Linked DNA regions of Homo sapiens: region 1 is linked to region 2. The links are contacts of gene promoters, found by promoter capture Hi-C in blood cells and fetal thymus (Javierre and others, 2016). All regions are on one chromosome and are shown on one strand. The core of a region is centred on a gene start or on the middle of the fragment in contact, and the rest is flanking DNA. Distances in the headings are between cores, read along the strand shown.

Region 1 (3,711 bases), core at 375-2,874, 37 kb after region 2:
GGTTGATGCCAGCTATATTAAAACTAAATAAATTAAAATTAAATGTTATTTATAAATGTTTCAAAATTATCATTGAATAAATAGCTTGACTTGGTGATTACAAATCAAGGGTAGCGTCAGAAGGCTAAAGCTATAAGCCAAGCTAATACATGAGAAAAATCAAATCATATTTTTTTAGAAATATGGAATTATTTATTTAAGGAATGCAATATACAGTATCTAGAAACTACTGTCTATATATAGGAAACTCTATGCTATATCATTTCATTCTTTTTTTTTCAGCAAAGAGACAAATACACAACTGTTTGTATTTGTGCTGCTTTTTTTTCCCATTACCATACGTGAATGGAATGAACAGCTTCTCTGAGGATGGATAGTGTAAGATGTGGAATTCCTGCCTGCTATCTTGTAAGGAGCTATTTGCATATGAAATTTTGTGGACATGAGATTGAAAATGCGTGATTTATAAGCAAAAGGAAAAAAAAACCTTTAAGCCTTCATGCCCTGCATTTCAAATTTCTGGCTGATTTATAAACCTTTCAAAGCTCATGCTATGAAGCAATTCAAAATTTCTATGTCTATACATGTTTAGCTAACATTAACTCAGCTAGCCGCCCCGTGGCATTTTCCGTGCTAGTCTTCATTTTTTCCCTCTATATTTTTTCTCGTCTCGCTTTTTTAGAAATGTTATTCCTATTTCTGTCACACTGTCACCTTTTAGTCTGTCTTGCAAGAATGTAACATCAGCCGCCAAATGAACCTAGGAAAGAAGAAAAAAACAGGCCTGTGTCATTCAATTAAAAAACAAAAAACTAAATTTTCTCAGTCTTTTTTCAGCTTTCTTTACTTTCCTTAAGAAATGATTTTTAAAAAAGCTTGTTCGTGGATAAAGGGCCCTTTACTGAGTGTCCTCCGGAGATGGTCCAGCTGTGTGTCAGCTCTGTGGTGTGAATCTGCAAAGAGGAGGGTGGTCCAGGCCAACTAGGATGACTGGGACACCCAGCCTCTGCCAAGCTTAGCTCAATGTGCAAGGCTGAACTCTGGATCCATCTTCAGAAGAACACAAATTCCCAGCTCGGGGATAGCCTTGACCCACTGTGCTTAGCCAGCAGAATTTCCAAGAATAAATGGATTCTTAAATGATTGCTCTCAAACAGATTTGCCATAAATCATTCTGTCATTAGCTGAATAACATAATCACTTATCCTAACAACATTTAGCAGTCACTTATGGCTTTGAGAGCTTTGAGAATAATATCAATTAAATGAATTATAGATATAAAATTAAAGATTGAATTTACAGACATGAATATTTGATACTCAGGCCTTCTTTTTCTCTGTAAGGTATTTCCCATTTCCCAGGCACTGAAGTAAGCAGGGCTTACTTCTTTATTCATTAAAATGTGTCCACATAAGAGCAGCATGATATTGCTGACCTACCCCCAATAGTGTATTTGTTCAGAGTTATTTTGATTTATTGGGAAAAATAAGATAAATAAGTAAAAGCACCTAGTAAAAGCAAATAATATGTGAAAAATGCCCACATGTAGCAGGCAATTAATTGATGTTTATTGAATCTTACCTAACTCAGTCCCCTCTCTCACTAAGAATTCCTTAGCTAGCCAGCCTCAATTTGTTAAACCATTAGTGTACCAAATTATCTGGCTCATACTGGGCCCGGCCTTGCAATGCCTACCATTTAACAGAGGATGTAGATTGCACTTGGAAATACAGAAGCAACATTCATCCTCAACTTTTTCTTCCATAAGACTTTTTAAGTCTTTGTCAAAATTTAACAGAACATAAATTAAATTAACAGGGAGACAATGTTGAAGCTATTTGGATATTTGGGGACACATGAGGTCTGATACCAGCTGTCATTCAGCAAATATAATCAACTGCTATTTATGAGAGTGGAAGACATTCTTATCCTATTATTGGCTTGGTTTTATGGTTTTTCCCTTTGCCCATAAACACTTATAATGCTTTCCCACCTCTTCCTTGATCTCATGGCCACCGACTACAGGACAAGTCTAAAAAGATGCTAGGGTAGACGCATGGAGAATCTGTGTGAACAATACATTATTTCTATTGTTTTATGCTTTTGGATTACTTGTTATTCTATTTTCCCCTAATTATCACAAATAATTTAAAATTACATGCATGCCTCATTATTAGGTAGCTCAATACATGGCAAGACTTTGGTTGCTATCTGGTTCCACCATTCTTAATAGCTAAGCTTCTGGGAAAATGAGACTTTGTTGACTGTTACCTCTTCTTAAGCTGTTGTTGGCTCACCAATCTATGACAGATTGTCTTCTTTTCCTCCACTTTCCCAAAGGAGCTTTTACCAAGGCCCTTCTGGGTCTTTTGGTTCCTAAATGTTGTGAATATTTTTCAGGTCCGGTTTAACTTAGACTCTTTGCTGTACTTGTTCTTATTAATCAGTCTGTCCTCTTGAAATGATCTCCTCTCTTGTTTCTATGACTCCTTCTTTTCCTACCTCTGATTTCTTTTTCTTGGTATCCTTTTCAGCCTTTGTGCCCTCTGTTTAACCTACTTATTATATTTTATTGCTTCCTATGGTTCTGTTACTCCCTTTTATTCTTGCTCTACAGACTCTGCCTAGGCATTCTTTTCCTATTCTAATGCTTCTTCAATCCATGTCTCTCTGTGATCTCCAGACAGGGATAAACAACTGCTTGCTGGATAGCCTCACTTGCATGTGTTAAACACCTCAACTCCAGCAGGCTCAAAATCGAACTCCTCACTTTGTCTCTACCAAGCCCAGATGTACTCCTCTTGGTTTTGTTCCTCTTGGTTTAATAGTACAACCATCTCTACAGGTTTCTCAGAAACTTACAAATCATTCTTGAATCTTTTTCTCAATTTCATTCCTTTCAGCCAGTTCATAACCTAGTCCATAACCTGTTCCATCTTTTTGATGTTGTTCAAATGGTCTTCCTCTCCCCATTCCTGCAGTCAGGGTTTTGTTCTCGTTTTACCTGAGGTTACCATCATAACTTCCAAAGTGCCCTAATCCTTTCCTTCAGCATTGTTCCCTCTGATATACTTTCATTTGGTTGATAAAGAAATGAAATTCCTAAAACACAAATTTCAAAATATTATTCTACTGTTTATAAACCTATATTGATTTCTGTTGCTTTCAATATAAAAATCTGAATTTCCAAGCTTGTCATATGAATCCCTTTTCTTAAAATCAGGCTTCTGTAAAGAATTTAAGCCTCCTTTCTCATGACAATCTGTCTCCCAATTTATATGTCAGTCATACTGAACTAATTCAAGTTCTTTGTTCCTTGAGTGAAACACTCTTTTTGTACCTTTGGACATGCTGATTCTTCTACCTGTTAGATTATTTTTCTCCTGCTCCTCTTACCCAAGGCTTTTATCTAACTCCTATTTTTCCTTCAAAAGCCAGTTTAGAGTTTCCTTAGGAAGTCTACAAGTTTTTCCTGCCACACGTCCTCTCATAGCCTTAATTATACTTCTTTGTACATCTGACTTTTCCATTAGACAGAAGATTCTTTAAAGACAGCAACTATGTCTTGTTCATCTGTGTATACTCAGTGCCTGACACTTAGCAGATACTAATAACTGTTTCAGTTAAACCAATGAATAATTCAGGTGTAAAATCCAGCCTCCACAATGGTCAATGATCCCTGCCTCCTGTTATTCACACCCTCAGGTAGCA
Region 2 (3,842 bases), core at 1,343-3,842:
AACTTCTGAGCAATATCCTCTCAGAACAGACCTGGGTATGGAGGGCTGGGAATCTTCAATAGACCCAGAGCTAGAACCAGTCAATCCAGTGGTGGTGGGAGTGGATGGCAGGGTACTAGACTCAAGACCAAGTGCTGGGGAAACATTCAGGCTGGCAGGCAAAACCTGGACTCTCAATTATAGAAACCTGTACTAAGTTCTGAATGATCATTGCATCTGGGAGAGTTGGGTTTGGGAGAGCACAGAAGTAGCAAACCCAGGAGGTGGTGTTTAGAGACACAAGCTGACAAGACAATATGTCAGGATGCAGCTCAGTCTGTGAAAGTTTCAGAGGCAGAATTGCAGACTACATATTCTGGTCTGTGAAGCACCTAAACCTGACCTTCCACTTGCAGCTTTGGCCTCATGATGTGCCAACTTGCCTGTCATTCTCAATGCTCCCATCACTCTAGCCTTCTTTCTAACCAAGCTCCTTTGTACTCCAGACTCATTCAGATTAAATGTCAGTTTCTCACAGAGGCTCTTTCAGGACACTCTCTAACTCCAATTTATCCTGTGCGTAATCTTTAGGACCCCTCCTCTCCATTTCCTATATCATCTCTACTGTAAGTTCAAAGACGGCAGGATACCTGTGTCTTCTTCCTTGTTGTATCCAGCAATACCAGGCACTTTTGATAGGTACTTGACATATTCTGAGTACTTATTAAACATTTAAATGAATGACTGAATGAACAAATGAACTAATTAATAACTGGTTAACAAATGAATTAATCTAGTTGGGGAAGGGGGCTGATAGATAAAAGTTTCTGTAAGTAAACATATTTCAAACAAATCCTTGACTAAATAACAGAAGCCAGGGAAGAGAAGGTGATGGACTTCATTAGAGTCTTAAAAAATGAAGGGAATGAAAACAGACCATAGGAATGAGGTGAAGGAGGAGATGGTGCTGATTAGATTGAGCCTCAGTGGATGATAAACTATTATAGCACAGTGGTAAAACCCTGGTATGGCTATCAGCAGGTAACCAGGAAAATGCCAGCCATCCCTCTTGGTTTGAGAGATGTGGGAGAATAAATTAATCTCACTCAAGAAGACAGAAGGATGCATTTTTATTAGGTTTCGGTTAGGGGAGATTTGGATAAAGCCATCTGCACAAAGGTTGTGGATATAGTGATGTTTCTGCATGATGGAATATGGGAAAGGGTGGACGAGAGAGGACACATCTTAGAGTATTATGGTAGAGGTGAAGAAGAGTCCAGCAGTAAGAGGAGAGTTACTCAAGGCACAGGGGAAGAAATTTATCTTGGGAGATGACAAATTACAAAGATAACAGTCAGAGCAGAAGTGATTCGCTTCAAACACGCAACTTTGCTGCAAGTTGACAGGAAGCCTAGCAGTATCTGGTCTAATCTCAGAGAAGAGGGCCCCAACTTTCCTGCATGACCATGAAGACCCTCATCTGGGGCTGGCCCCTAAACACATAGAAAAAAGATGTCTATTTACCACATCACTATGGAATGACAGCTTTTGGCACTACGCTAGGCACCCTGCTGGTGGTGTTGGAGAGGGAGTAGTTAAGAAGGCAAGTTGGACTAAGAAAAGAATAATACATTTCTTGTCCATTCTCTAAAAATTCACTTGGTTCCATGGGCTACCTATTCTTTCCAGATAAAATAAGGCAAGCCTGGTGGATGGGCACCAATAAGAACCATTTCATTGTGAACTGCCCACCCAAGCTCCATATCCAGATACTCTCCTTGTGGTGAAGCAGACAGCTAAGGTGTACACCAATTCTCTTAAGGTAGCAGAGTCATTGAGTCACTTAATACTATCCACTGAATTGATCCTCGTTTAAAATTCAAAATTCAGTATTCATCAAGATTCTTAGGTTATGTACAATGTAATTATTTGTTGTCTATTCCCCAAATTGCATTTTAAGGGGAAAACTCTCACACTGATCATTCATTTAACAGACATATCCTATATGTAAAGGCACTTTACATATGCTACTCAATCTACTCATGTCAGTAATCTTGAAAAGTGGGCACTATTATCCTTCTTTTACAAATAAGGATGCTGTGTCTCAGAGGGGCATACTTGTTAAACACACCACAGACAAGATGCACTTGACTTCAAAGCCCATGTTCTTTCAAGCACACCTCAGCTCAGTCTGGAGTCACACAGAGTAAGGCTCAATATCACAAAAGTGGTTACAGTGTTTGTGTCAGAACAACGCTGCTTGAGAAAACTGAAGGTGGAGGAAACAACATTAGATAGATGTAGCTGCAGTTTGAAATTTTGGGTTCAACTAGCATTCTTTGAATAATCATGTATCCCCTTCTGTGCAGATCAGCTTGGTGGTCAGAGTCAGAATTTTACTCTCCTCCAGGCATTGACAGTGTTATGACATATCTGAAAGAAAAGAACATTGTATTGACGAGTAAATCAATACAGTATATTTGGTCTAATGTCCTGAAGGAGATCAGGCAGAGGAGAGAAGAGTCAGTGTGAACTAGGCTGGTGGCTCTGTCCGGTAGGGAGATGGAAAGGGTGCCGCCCATCATAGAAGTACCAGAACTTGAGCTGGACTTTGCTGATTTAGCTTATGGAAGAGGAACCAGAAATTTGTCCTTGAATAATGTTTCCCGTAAGTAATCAGTTTTTTGATAATTATTTGGTTTTACTGTGATCTGGCTTAGTAACTAGGGTGGCTGCAATAGAGGAAAATCTGGTATTTCCCAGTTTTTCCAACTGGCGGCCGTGGGTCAAGAAGGTTAGTTTCCTGGTTCGTTGTCAGATTGGTGGTAATAAAGGAACAAGGTCAACCTTCTGTCAGAGTTCCTGAATTGGGGGAGGAAGATAACTGGTGCCTCTGCCTTTGGAATGGGGTGGGTGCCAGAGAAGTCAAGGTCCTGGGGGTGTTTGCTTGCCTGGTTCTGTTAACCAGAGGTGGTGTGGCTGAAATGAGAAAGTGAAACTTTAGGAAGGTCTGAGAAGCCCTCTTCCCTTTAAAAAAAAAAAAAAAAAGGCTGCTTCTCGCAGAGTGGAAAGCCCCGGTCCCCATCCCACCAAAACCATTTGACAAGCAGGACAACGAAGAGGCAGAAGGATCTGGGCCTGTGCGCGACGCCCCGGGGGACGAGGCTCATGGAGAAGTTTCGGGCGGTGCTGGACCTGCACGTCAAGCACCACAGCGCCTTGGGCTACGGCCTGGTGACCCTGCTGACGGCGGGCGGGGAGCGCATCTTCTCCGCCGTGGCATTCCAGTGCCCGTGCAGCGCCGCCTGGAACCTGCCCTACGGCCTGGTCTTCTTGCTGGTGCCGGCGCTCGCGCTCTTCCTCCTGGGCTACGTGCTGAGCGCACGCACGTGGCGCCTGCTCACCGGATGCTGCTCCAGCGCCCGCGCGAGTTGCGGATCGGCGCTGCGCGGCTCCCTGGTGTGCACGCAAATCAGCGCGGCCGCCGCGCTCGCGCCCCTCACCTGGGTGGCCGTGGCGCTGCTCGGGGGCGCCTTTTACGAGTGCGCGGCCACCGGGAGCGCGGCCTTCGCGCAGCGCCTGTGCCTCGGCCGCAACCGCAGCTGCGCCGCGGAGCTGCCGCTGGTGCCGTGCAACCAGGCCAAGGCGTCGGACGTGCAGGACCTCCTGAAGGATCTGAAGGCTCAGTCGCAGGTCTGCCGCTGGCGCTGGGGGCGTTTGGGAGGAGCCGAGAGGCCGAGCTTTCTCAGGGCCGCTGGGGTGAGGGAAAAATCGGTGACTTTTCTCCAGATATACAGTACCCTAAGAAAATCTAGAATGGCTCCTTGCATCTAATTTGCCGTCAAGAGAATATCTGAATAAAA

Evidence for each region. Contacts are between HindIII fragments. The CHiCAGO score rates a contact against its expected background, and 5 or more counts as called.
Region 1: a contact is called between a fragment that was not itself captured here and the fragment with the promoter of CALHM6 in region 2, in 10 of 17 cell types (total B cells, naive B cells, neutrophils and 7 more). The highest score is 15.0, in total B cells.

The regions. Positions count from the first base shown.
Region 1 is chr6:116,496,314-116,500,024 of GRCh38, forward strand. It overlaps TRAPPC3L (trafficking protein particle complex subunit 3L), which reads right to left. Exons shown (of 5, transcript NM_001139444.3): 5 at 1-760. The coding sequence ends at 641. Among named protein-coding and RNA genes, the nearest start is that of CALHM5, 13 kb to the right of the region's middle. The HindIII fragment of the contact is 1,224 bases long and covers 1,013-2,236 here.
Region 2 is chr6:116,458,783-116,462,624 of GRCh38, forward strand. CALHM6 (calcium homeostasis modulator family member 6) reads left to right here and starts at 2,593. Exons shown (of 3, transcript NM_001010919.3): 1 at 2,593-2,647; 2 at 3,090-3,672. The coding sequence starts at 3,148. It overlaps CALHM6-AS1 (CALHM6 antisense RNA 1), which reads right to left. Exons shown (of 2, transcript NR_174951.1): 2 at 1,696-2,412. RefSeq lists enhancers at 2,999-3,108, 3,119-3,198 and a silencer at 3,579-3,658. The HindIII fragment of the contact is 9,761 bases long and covers 1-3,842 here.